Regions from separate parts of the Homo sapiens genome. Here region 1 is linked to region 2. The links are contacts of gene promoters, found by promoter capture Hi-C in blood cells and fetal thymus (Javierre and others, 2016). All regions are on one chromosome and are shown on one strand. The core of a region is centred on a gene start or on the middle of the fragment in contact, and the rest is flanking DNA. Distances in the headings are between cores, read along the strand shown.

Region 1 (4,440 bases), core at 1,675-4,174, 1.4 Mb before region 2:
GGGAATGTATCATGGTGAAGCCACTTTGGAAAACAGTCTGGCAGTTCTTCAAATGGTTAATCAGAATTATCATATGACTCAGAAATTCCACTCCTATCTGGATACCAAAGAGGAATGAAAGCATGTCCACGTGAAGACTTGTACACGATGTTTACAGCAGCATTATTTATAACAGCCAAAAGGTGGAAGCAATCCAAATGTTCGTCATTTGATGAACTGATAAAATATGGTAGTTCCCTCCTTATCTGAGGAGGTTATATTCCAAGATCACCAGTGGATTCATGGAACGGCAGATACTACCAAACCCTATATATACTATTTTCTCTTATACATACATAGCTATGATAAAGTTTAATTTATAAATTAGGTACAGTAAGAGATTAACAATACTAATAGAACAGTTATAAAAATATACTGTAATAAAAGTTATATGAATGTGGTCTCAAAATATCTTGTACTGTACTCACCTATTTTTATACTGCAGTTGATTGTGGGTAACTGAAACCACAGAAAGTGAAAGATGGATATGGGGGGACTACTGTACATCCATACAATGGAATGTTATTTGGCCATAAAAAGGAATGGAGTATTGATACGTGTCATGACATGGATGAGCCTTAAAAACATTGTGCTAAGTGAAAGAAGGTAGTCACAAAAGACCACGTATTATTATATGATTCCCTTTATATACATTTTCTAGAATGTCCTTCATAATATTCATCCTTCTGATAGACCTGAGTGTAGGTTCAGGTCTCTGCTCACATACCACTCCTCAGAGAAGTTTCCCCTGACCACCTAGCCAAAACTGTACCCTATCCCTCTCAGTTCCTCTGCCTTTATTTATTTTTTTCATATCACTCTAATGTTACATTGCATACTTATTTATTTGGTTTACTATGTCTTTCTCAGTAGGATGTAAAGCTCCGTGAGGGAAAGGACTCTATCCCAATAATGGTGCATGGCCTTAGTAGATGCTAAATAAAAATGATTTTAAATGCATGCATGAATGAAGTGTTAGGCAGCTGGGTAAGGTGGGGGCAAATGAACAGCTGAGGAGCCAGACGGACCTATATTCCCACTCTGACTCCGCCACTTTGGGCAACATAATTCATTTCTATGAGGCTTCGCCTCTTCATCTACAGGTGACAGGAAACGGGACAACAGAACACACCCTTTAGAGATGGTGTGAAGATGGCAAAGCACCAAGGTGGAAGCTCTCCTTGCTGGGTTTGAGGAACAGCAAGGAGATTAGTGTGACTGGAGAAGGATGAATGAGGGCAATGTTGACGGAGATGAATGAGGTTGGAGAGGAGCGCAGAGCTAGATTTTATTCCATGTGTGCTGGGAAGTTTTTGGTAAGTGGAGACCAGGACATGACATCATCTGATATCCCAGTACGTTTAGAAGGATCCCTCTGGCTGCCGTGAGAACAAGAAAGGAAGCAAAGAGACAAGTTACGGGCTCGTTCAATGATCCAAGACAGAGACGATGGTGGCTATGACTAGAGTGGACGCAATGGAGTGGGTGACAACAATCATATTCAAGATAATTTGAAGGTGGGGGCCACAGGATTTGCTGATGAATTTGATTATTCGATGGCAGAGAAAGAGAAGAATGAAATATGCTTCAAATTTGTCATTTTCTTTTTTTTCTTTTTTAATCCAAGAAACTTCGGGGATGGGGAACACTGGTGAAGTGGTTTTAGAAACAGTGAATAGAATCAAGAATTCAGTTTTCAACATGTTAAATTTGGTATACCTATTAGACATTCACATCACGCTGGCAGCTGGATATAAAGGGCCAAGAGTTAAATGAAGAGACCAAGGTTAGAGGAACAAACTTGAAAGCCTTGGGTGTATATGCTGTATTTAAAAGTCATAGGAAGGGCCCAGTGTGATGGTTCACGCCTGTAATTCCAGCACTTTGGGAGGCCAAAGTGGGTGGATCAGGAGTTCGAGACCAGGAGTTGAGGTCAGGAGTTCGAGACCAGCCTGGCCAACATGGCAAAACCCCGTCTCTACTAAAAATACAAAAATTAGCCGAGTGTGGTGGCACAGGCCTGTATTCCCAGCTACTCGGGAGGCTGAGGCAGGAGAATCGCTTGAACCGGGGAGGCAGAGGTTGCAGTGAGCCGAGATTGTGCCACTGCACTCCAGCCTTGGTGACAGACTGAGACTCTGTCTCAAAAGAAAAAAAAAAGTCATAGAAAAAAAATAAATGTCATACGACTGGATGCGATTATCAGCAAATATGGGTAGAGCCCTTATTTTGTGCTAAAGTGTTCTAGGCACTACAGCAATGAGTAATACACAAAGAGAAAAATTCACACCCTTATGGATCTTACATTCTAATGGGGAGGGGATAATAAAATAACTAACAAAAATATACAGCGTGTTAGATAGCAAGAGGGAAATACAGGAGAGATGAGGATGAGGTGGGTGGGAAGGTTACAGGATGGCTAGGGAAATCCTCACTGGGAAAATGTTATTTAAGCTTAAACCTTGAAAGAGGTGAGGGCAGCAGCCTTCTGGTATACCTTGGGGACTACCATTCCAGGCAGAGGCGAAAGCAAATGCAGAGGGGCTGAAAAAGGAGCACGTCCAGCCAGTGGAGGGAAAAGCAAGAATAGTGACTGTAGAGGAGAGAGCCGGGGAGGGTGATGGGAAATGAGGACCGAGAGGTTAATGGGAAAGGCGGGGTGAAGAGAAATGAGTGTGACACAGAGCAGCTCTCAGTACGGATTTAAGCTAGGAAGGTGTCCAAACAGGAACTTAAGGCTCTCCTTACGTCAAAGCCGGATGTTAACGCCCAGTCCCCAGGCCCCGCCTCTGCTCGGCAGAAGCTCCGCTCCGGGGCCGGAACTCCAGGGCTAGTGAGCTGGACCGGAAGTAGGTTTCTACCCGACCGCATTTTACGTGGTGCTGCATTTCCGGTAGCGGCGGCGGGAAATCGGCTGTGGGAGAGAGGCTAGGCCTCTGAGGAGGCGAATCCGGCGGGTATCAGAGCCATCAGAACCGCCACCATGGTAAGGAGGGCACAGGCTGGCGGCGCGGGAGCTTCCGAGTCTGTTGTGGAGTGGGAACCGCGACTGATCGGGGAGGAAGCCGTGGGTTGGAGCCACTTAGGGCGGTGAAGGCCTGGGCCGAGGCCGCTCGGTCTGGGCGGGAAAGACCAGGACCTTGGCGGTTCGGCTAGGCATGGGGTCGAGGAAAAGGTTGGAACCGGTGTCGGAGGCCGAGGTCGCTCGGCAGGGGCGAGGGTAGAACCGCGGCTCTCGACACCGCTGTAGCCATAATTCCTGGGACCCAGTAGGCACTAAGTTAACTTTTGCCGAATAAATATATGTCCCGGGCTTCGGAGCAGGCACTGGAGCCGCAGGGGGACCCGGTAAAAGGCTCAGACTTGCGGAAGTTTGTGAGTCTGAGAAAGAGTTGGCGGAAGTGGGTGGAAGGGGCTCGTGGACCACGCTAGAGTCTCGCTAGGTCTGCTGGATGGAGAGGAGGGCGGAGGAGGGTGATGGCGAATGGAGGAAGAGCTCCACTCAGTTGCTCATCACGTTTCCGTGTTTGCCTGTGCCTGACTTCTCAGGCGCTGGGGCTACTCTCTGAAATATGTTTGCTTCCTTCACAGAGGTAGCTGGGGACACATAATATAATTCAGTGTGGTCATTCGGTAAAAGTAACGGCAGCGGGGCGGGGTAAGAATGTTTTCTCAAATAGATGGTTCCTGAGCAGATTCCTAAAAGATTAGCAAGAATGTTCCCGGCGAAAATGGGGGGAATATTACAGACCCGGAGAACTGAAGGAACAAAGGCTGAAGGGTAACAAGATTTAAAAAGTTACTGGATTTTTCTGCGTTTGTTGACTGAGAAAAAGTTGCTGGAGGAGAAAGGAAGAAAGAAGGGAAGACGGGAAGAATTGGCAGGAGGCTAGTTACTAAAGGCCTTGCATGTTAATTTTACCTCAGTGGTGGTGAGGCATGTCATTGAAGGATTTAATTTAATTTATTTTTATTTTTTTGAGACGGAGTTTTGCTTTTGTTGCCCAGGCTGGAGTGCGGTGGATCGATCAGGGTTCACTGCAAACTCCACCTCCCGGGTTCAAGCGATTCTCCTGCCTCAGCCTCCCAAGTAGCTGGGATTGTAGGTACCCGCCACCACACTTGGCTAATTTTTTGTATTTTTAGTAGAGACGGGGTTTCACCATGTTGGCCAGACTGGTCTCGAACTCCTGACCTCAGTTAATCCACCCACCTTGGCCTCCCAAAGTGCTGGGATTACAGCCGTGAGCCACCACACCCTGCCCACTGAAGGATTTTAACCAGCAAAATGACATAAGCTTAGTGGTGTTTAGAAAGATTGCTCTAGCTCTGGCATGTATATTCGATGGGACTGGAAGCAGGGAAACCTGGTAGGATATTGTTTGGATAACTGGTTAGAAT
Region 2 (4,690 bases), core at 1,206-3,705:
TGGTAATGCCAGCTAGAAGGTATCGACTTATGTGAACTCATGTCCCTAAACTGTCAAAGTGATTCAGACAGCATGAGTGAGGGTAAGAAATGTAGGAGCAGATCCACAGTGATTGATATTTATTTGTGGAATGGCAAGGAGAGAAGGGTATCAGACACGCCCTCTAGAACAAGTTCCTCAGCAGAGGTGGATGGGGTTCTGACAGTGTGGCAGAGTCTAAGTAGCTAGCTAGGAGTAGGTAAGGGGAGTGAGGTACATGAGGAGGGACAGAGTGCAAAGCAGAGCTGTTCCATCTGAAGGACAAGACAAAGGGCAGGGGGAGCTGAGGGCCAATGGAGGAGATCCCAGGTCAAAATCAAATCTTACTCCTCTTCTCAGCCCCACTGTCCCCTGCACCATCCCACATACCAGTTTCTTTGAAGAATCTAGGAAAAGTTGAAATAAAATGACTGGGGCAAGTGAAGAGCTGCTTAAGATTAAAAAGCTGGAGTAAGACAAGTGGGGAGACAAGATTTCTGTTAGGGGAACTATGCATTGAAAGAGGGGCCTGACGCTGAAATGGGGGTGCTGTCTCTACCTGGTCCCAAGGTCTGAAATGCTGGAAGACATTTGGAAGGTATGTGGAATGAAGAGCAGCACAAAGAGAAAGGTCAGGGACAGATGTGTTTGGGAAGGTGAAATGATTCCTGCTTCCAGGTATGTGTGTGTGAAAGGCTAGCTGTTCTTTTCCATCCTCATATCTAGTCTTAGAGCCCATTTGAGAGATGAAGTATGTGTGAGTTTGGAGGTGGGAATGGGGATCCTGAGTGTGTACCTGGGGTCCCAGTGAGATAATTGAGGTCTGGGGAAAAAAAGAGCCAGAAATCCCTGACGGTTCTTGTGTTCTGATTCCTGCTGGAGGGGGTAAAGTGTGAGAGGGGTATGGTGGTCTTGGTCTTTAGTTCTAAGAGACAGAGAGGAATAGGGACAGCAGTGAGGGGTGGGGGAAAGGGGATACTTGTCTAAGTGCTCAGAATGTACAAAGCAAGTTTGAAGAGAGGTCCCTAAAGCTATGTCAGGAGGGGAGAATTAAGACTCTATTTGAGAAGCTAAAAAAAATGATTAGAGGAGTTGAGAACTGAAGCAGTCAAAAAGGAGAGGAAGGGTGAAATCTCATGGCAAGATGCAATAGGTGGGGTGGTCTGTTTCCCATGGCTAGTCTTGGTTCTGAGAGTGAGAGAACAGTGACAGTGAGGGGCAGGCATGGAGGCAGGCCCACTTCTCCCAGGAAGCAGATGTCTAGGATGATGTGGATGTTGGGGATGAGGGTCACAGGGAAGAGACAGGAAAGAAAGAAGAATGCCAGAGCAAAGAATTAGTGAGGTGGGTTGGGTCCAGCAGTCCTAGAACTCTGTGGGGATGACAACGACGTCCCTAGCTGTAAGAGGTGGAGCCTGGGGATGGGAGAAGAGGGGCTGGCCCTATGGGGACAACTATGAGGAGAAAATCTTATATGACCCTCACACCCAGGGTGTATGTGTGTACGACTCTGGGGGTGATTGCTTCCTAGAGCTTGAGTTGGGGATGGCAGTAGCGAGTGGACTATGCTGGGCCCTTCAGTAAAGGGTGAAAGGCGTGTGAACTCTCTGGGCCCATGCTAACGGGTGAAAAAAGGGCCCTGGCCTGGGGCTGAGTAGGTCAAAGCTCACTCCTGTACCTGTGCTTGGATCCAGATGTTTGGTGGAGGCTCTACTGTGGTATGAGGGCGGAACTGAGTCAGTCCCCTCACCCCGAGGCTGGGTGGTAAGGAGTTCAGACGGGATCAGGTGGGTGAGAAGTGCTCTGGGGAGCTAAACTCCTGTCTAGATTCTTTGCCATTCTATGGAATGCTAGATCCACACAGTCCTGGCCTGAGAGGCTGCCAGGCTGTGTTGAAGCGAGTGTCCGCCCTTGAGTTTACAAATCATGTTGTGCCAGCTGTGCCGTGAGGGACTCTGGGCTGGGATGGGGCAGGTGAGCAACCTCCGACCCGCAGGTTTTACCAACGCTGCCATCTGCCCCAGACCCTGCACTGGGAGAAGCGGGGAAATCGGGCGCTCTGGACCAGGCCTCCGGTACTCTGAGTTTGGGCAGAAGACAGTTCCCTCCTCCACCCTGGCCGGCTCCGTGGCGTACCTGGTCACCGACACCCAAGCCGAAGTAACCGTGTGTCACCACTTCCCAATGCAAGAAGCAGACGAGCGCGTCCTGCCTGCAGGTGATGGCCGGCGCTGCCGATGCGAACAGTACCTCCAGGCCCGCCATGAGCGCCCGCGACTTCGGCGTCTGGAGGAAAGAAGGGGGCGGGGGTAGTGCAGTGAGCCGGCTCCGCGGCCGGGGTAGCTATAACTCTGCTTCCCTCTTGCGCTGGTTCTTGCCGAGTCCACACCTGAGACCAAAATGGAGACGCCCGGGGACGGGGCGGGGCGGGGAAGCCGGAAGTAGTCCCAACAGCGGGCGCAACTGCGTGAGGCGCGCCGGGTTGGCAACGCGAGCGCAGCACTGAAAGGTTCCGCCAGGGAGTGCGAGCGGGGCGTGGCCCCTCAAAGCCGGAAGCCGGGTCTTGGCGGCAGTCGACAGGATCGCCTGACGCGGGCACAGCGTCCTCCAAGAGGCCACCTTGCTGAGAGGCAGACTTCCCATCCACAAAATGGGGTATGCTAGGCCGGGGAAGGGGCTGGGAAATGTGGCTAAAATACATTCTTAATAATCGTTAACACGTTCGCCGTGCTTGCTACCGTCCACATTATTCTAAACGCTTTACTTGTATTCATTTATTTAATCTTCACAACCCAACTCTATGCAGTTGATATTAACGATTAATGTGCCTCATTGCACAGATGAGGAAACTGAGGCGCAGAGGGATAATTTGACCAAGATGACAACAGCCAGCCGGTGAACGGCTGAAATGGTTATGGGAACCTGGCAGTCTGGCTTCTAAGATAACATTTATTAAGTGTTTATTGTGTGCTACATCGTGCGCTAAAACCTTTACATCACCCTCTCAACAACTCTATGAAGTATGGACCGTTATTATCCCCATTTTGCAGATGACAAAACGGCTCAGAGTTGAAACCACTTCTCCAAGGAGACACAACTGCTGCCCGCAGAGCTGAAGCTCCTGACCCACTATCAAATTTCAATCATTTATTTGCCTACCCCCTTTATGATTTTTACCACCCGTTACTTCAACAAGTTTCATGAAATCCACTTATTGTTTTTACCCAAATAAATTTAGTTTCCCCATCCCAGTCACTAACCTGGTTCAAGCTCCTGTCATCTTTCACTTGGATGCCTGGCATCAGCCTCAGAACTGCCCCATTCCATTCCTGTCTCTCTCTAGTCTGTACTGCACTCCGCAACCAGAGAGATTCTGTTAGAAAACAAGTCAGATCGGCCAGGTGTGGCGGCTCATGCCTGTAATCCCAGCACTTTGTGAGGCCGAGGCAGGCGGATCACTTGAGGTCAGGAGTTTGAGACCAGCCTGGCCAACATGGTGAAACCCTGTCTCTACTAAAAATACAAAAATTAGCTGGGTGTGGTGGCGCACGCCTTTAGTCCCAGGTACTCGGGAGGCTGAGGCATGAGAATCAATCGAACCCGGGAGGTGGAGGTGGAGGTTGCAGTGAGCCAAGATCGCACCATTGCACTTCAGCCTGGGCAACAGAGCGATCTTCTGTCTCAAAAAAGAAAAAAAAAAAAAAAGAAAAGTCAGATCACATCCGTTGGCTCAAAATCGTCACACTCAATGGAAAAGTAAAGTCCTCCCCATGGTCTGCAGGAATCTGCATGTGGTCTGCCATCTCCTGCCCCAGCCCTGCCAGCCCTGTACCTCTCTGATTCAGTCTCCTTCAACTGTCCTCTCATCCCCTTTATACGTGCAATAACCTTGGCTCCCCCTCTTCTCTCACATCTACATCTGGTCCAACAGCAAAGCTAGTTGACTCCACTCTCAAAATATATTATGAATCTGACCACTTCCCATCACCTTCACTGCTTCCACTCTGGTCTGATCCTCCAGCATCTCACACTTAGACTATTGCAGTAGCTTCCCAGCCAGTTTCCCTGTTTCATGTGTTCTGTTTGGGCCTTTGCGTTCCTCTTCCTGGAATGCTCTTTTCCCAGATATCTGCATGTCTTGCTTCTTCATTTCAAGTGGCTTCATCCCTCACTCCTACCATCCTCAACAGAGGGCTTCCCAGACCATTCCATCCAAAATAACCTTCTCCCGTCTTTAATCCCTCTCTGGCTTTTTTTTTTTCCTGCAAAGCATTAATCATAACCTGAAACTATGTTAGGTGTTTATTTCTTTGCTTATTTAATGACTGTCTTTCCACTAGACTGTGACAAAGGAACAGGGAGCATGTCTACCTTGTGCACATATGTACCTGAGTGCCTTCTGGGATCAATCTATACTTATTGAAAGACAGAATGAATACTGAATGAAGGAATGAATTCTTGGCCTAGCCCCAACCCAGTCAGGGCACTCTTACCTCTTTATAGTCCATCACTCCCTTTGTCAGCTGGCCCTGTGCCTCTCCAAATTTTGTGTTCCTAAAGTTTCCTTGAGACAACCAGATTCTTGAACCCCTTCTGCAGAGATTCTGGATGAGAAGGTCTGAGGAAGAGTGCATGTATGTTGACTACATTCTGGATGACACTAAAGCTAGTG

Evidence for each region. The method cuts DNA at HindIII sites, captures the fragments that hold promoters and counts their contacts. A CHiCAGO score of 5 or more calls a contact.
Region 1: a contact is called between the fragment with the promoter of SNRPB here and the fragment with the promoter of PSMF1 in region 2, in 1 of 17 cell types (neutrophils). The highest score is 7.5, in neutrophils.

The regions. Positions count from the first base shown.
Region 1 is chr20:2,469,273-2,473,712 of GRCh38, reverse strand. It overlaps SNRPB (small nuclear ribonucleoprotein polypeptides B and B1), which reads left to right and starts at 2,924. Exons shown (of 7, transcript NM_003091.4): 1 at 2,924-3,025. The coding sequence starts at 3,023. RefSeq lists enhancers at 2,915-2,964, 2,975-3,024, 3,185-3,304. The HindIII fragment of the contact is 1,844 bases long and covers 2,496-4,339 here.
Region 2 is chr20:1,116,367-1,121,056 of GRCh38, reverse strand. PSMF1 (proteasome inhibitor subunit 1) reads right to left here and starts at 2,455. Exons shown (of 7, transcript NM_006814.5): 1 at 2,155-2,455. The coding sequence starts at 2,283. LOC105372493 (a long non-coding RNA gene) reads left to right here and starts at 2,609. Exons shown (of 2, transcript NR_136535.1): 1 at 2,609-2,673; 2 at 3,069-3,205. RefSeq lists enhancers at 2,183-2,312, 2,353-2,542, 2,553-2,602, 2,613-2,662, 2,062-2,704. The HindIII fragment of the contact is 12,206 bases long and covers 1-4,690 here.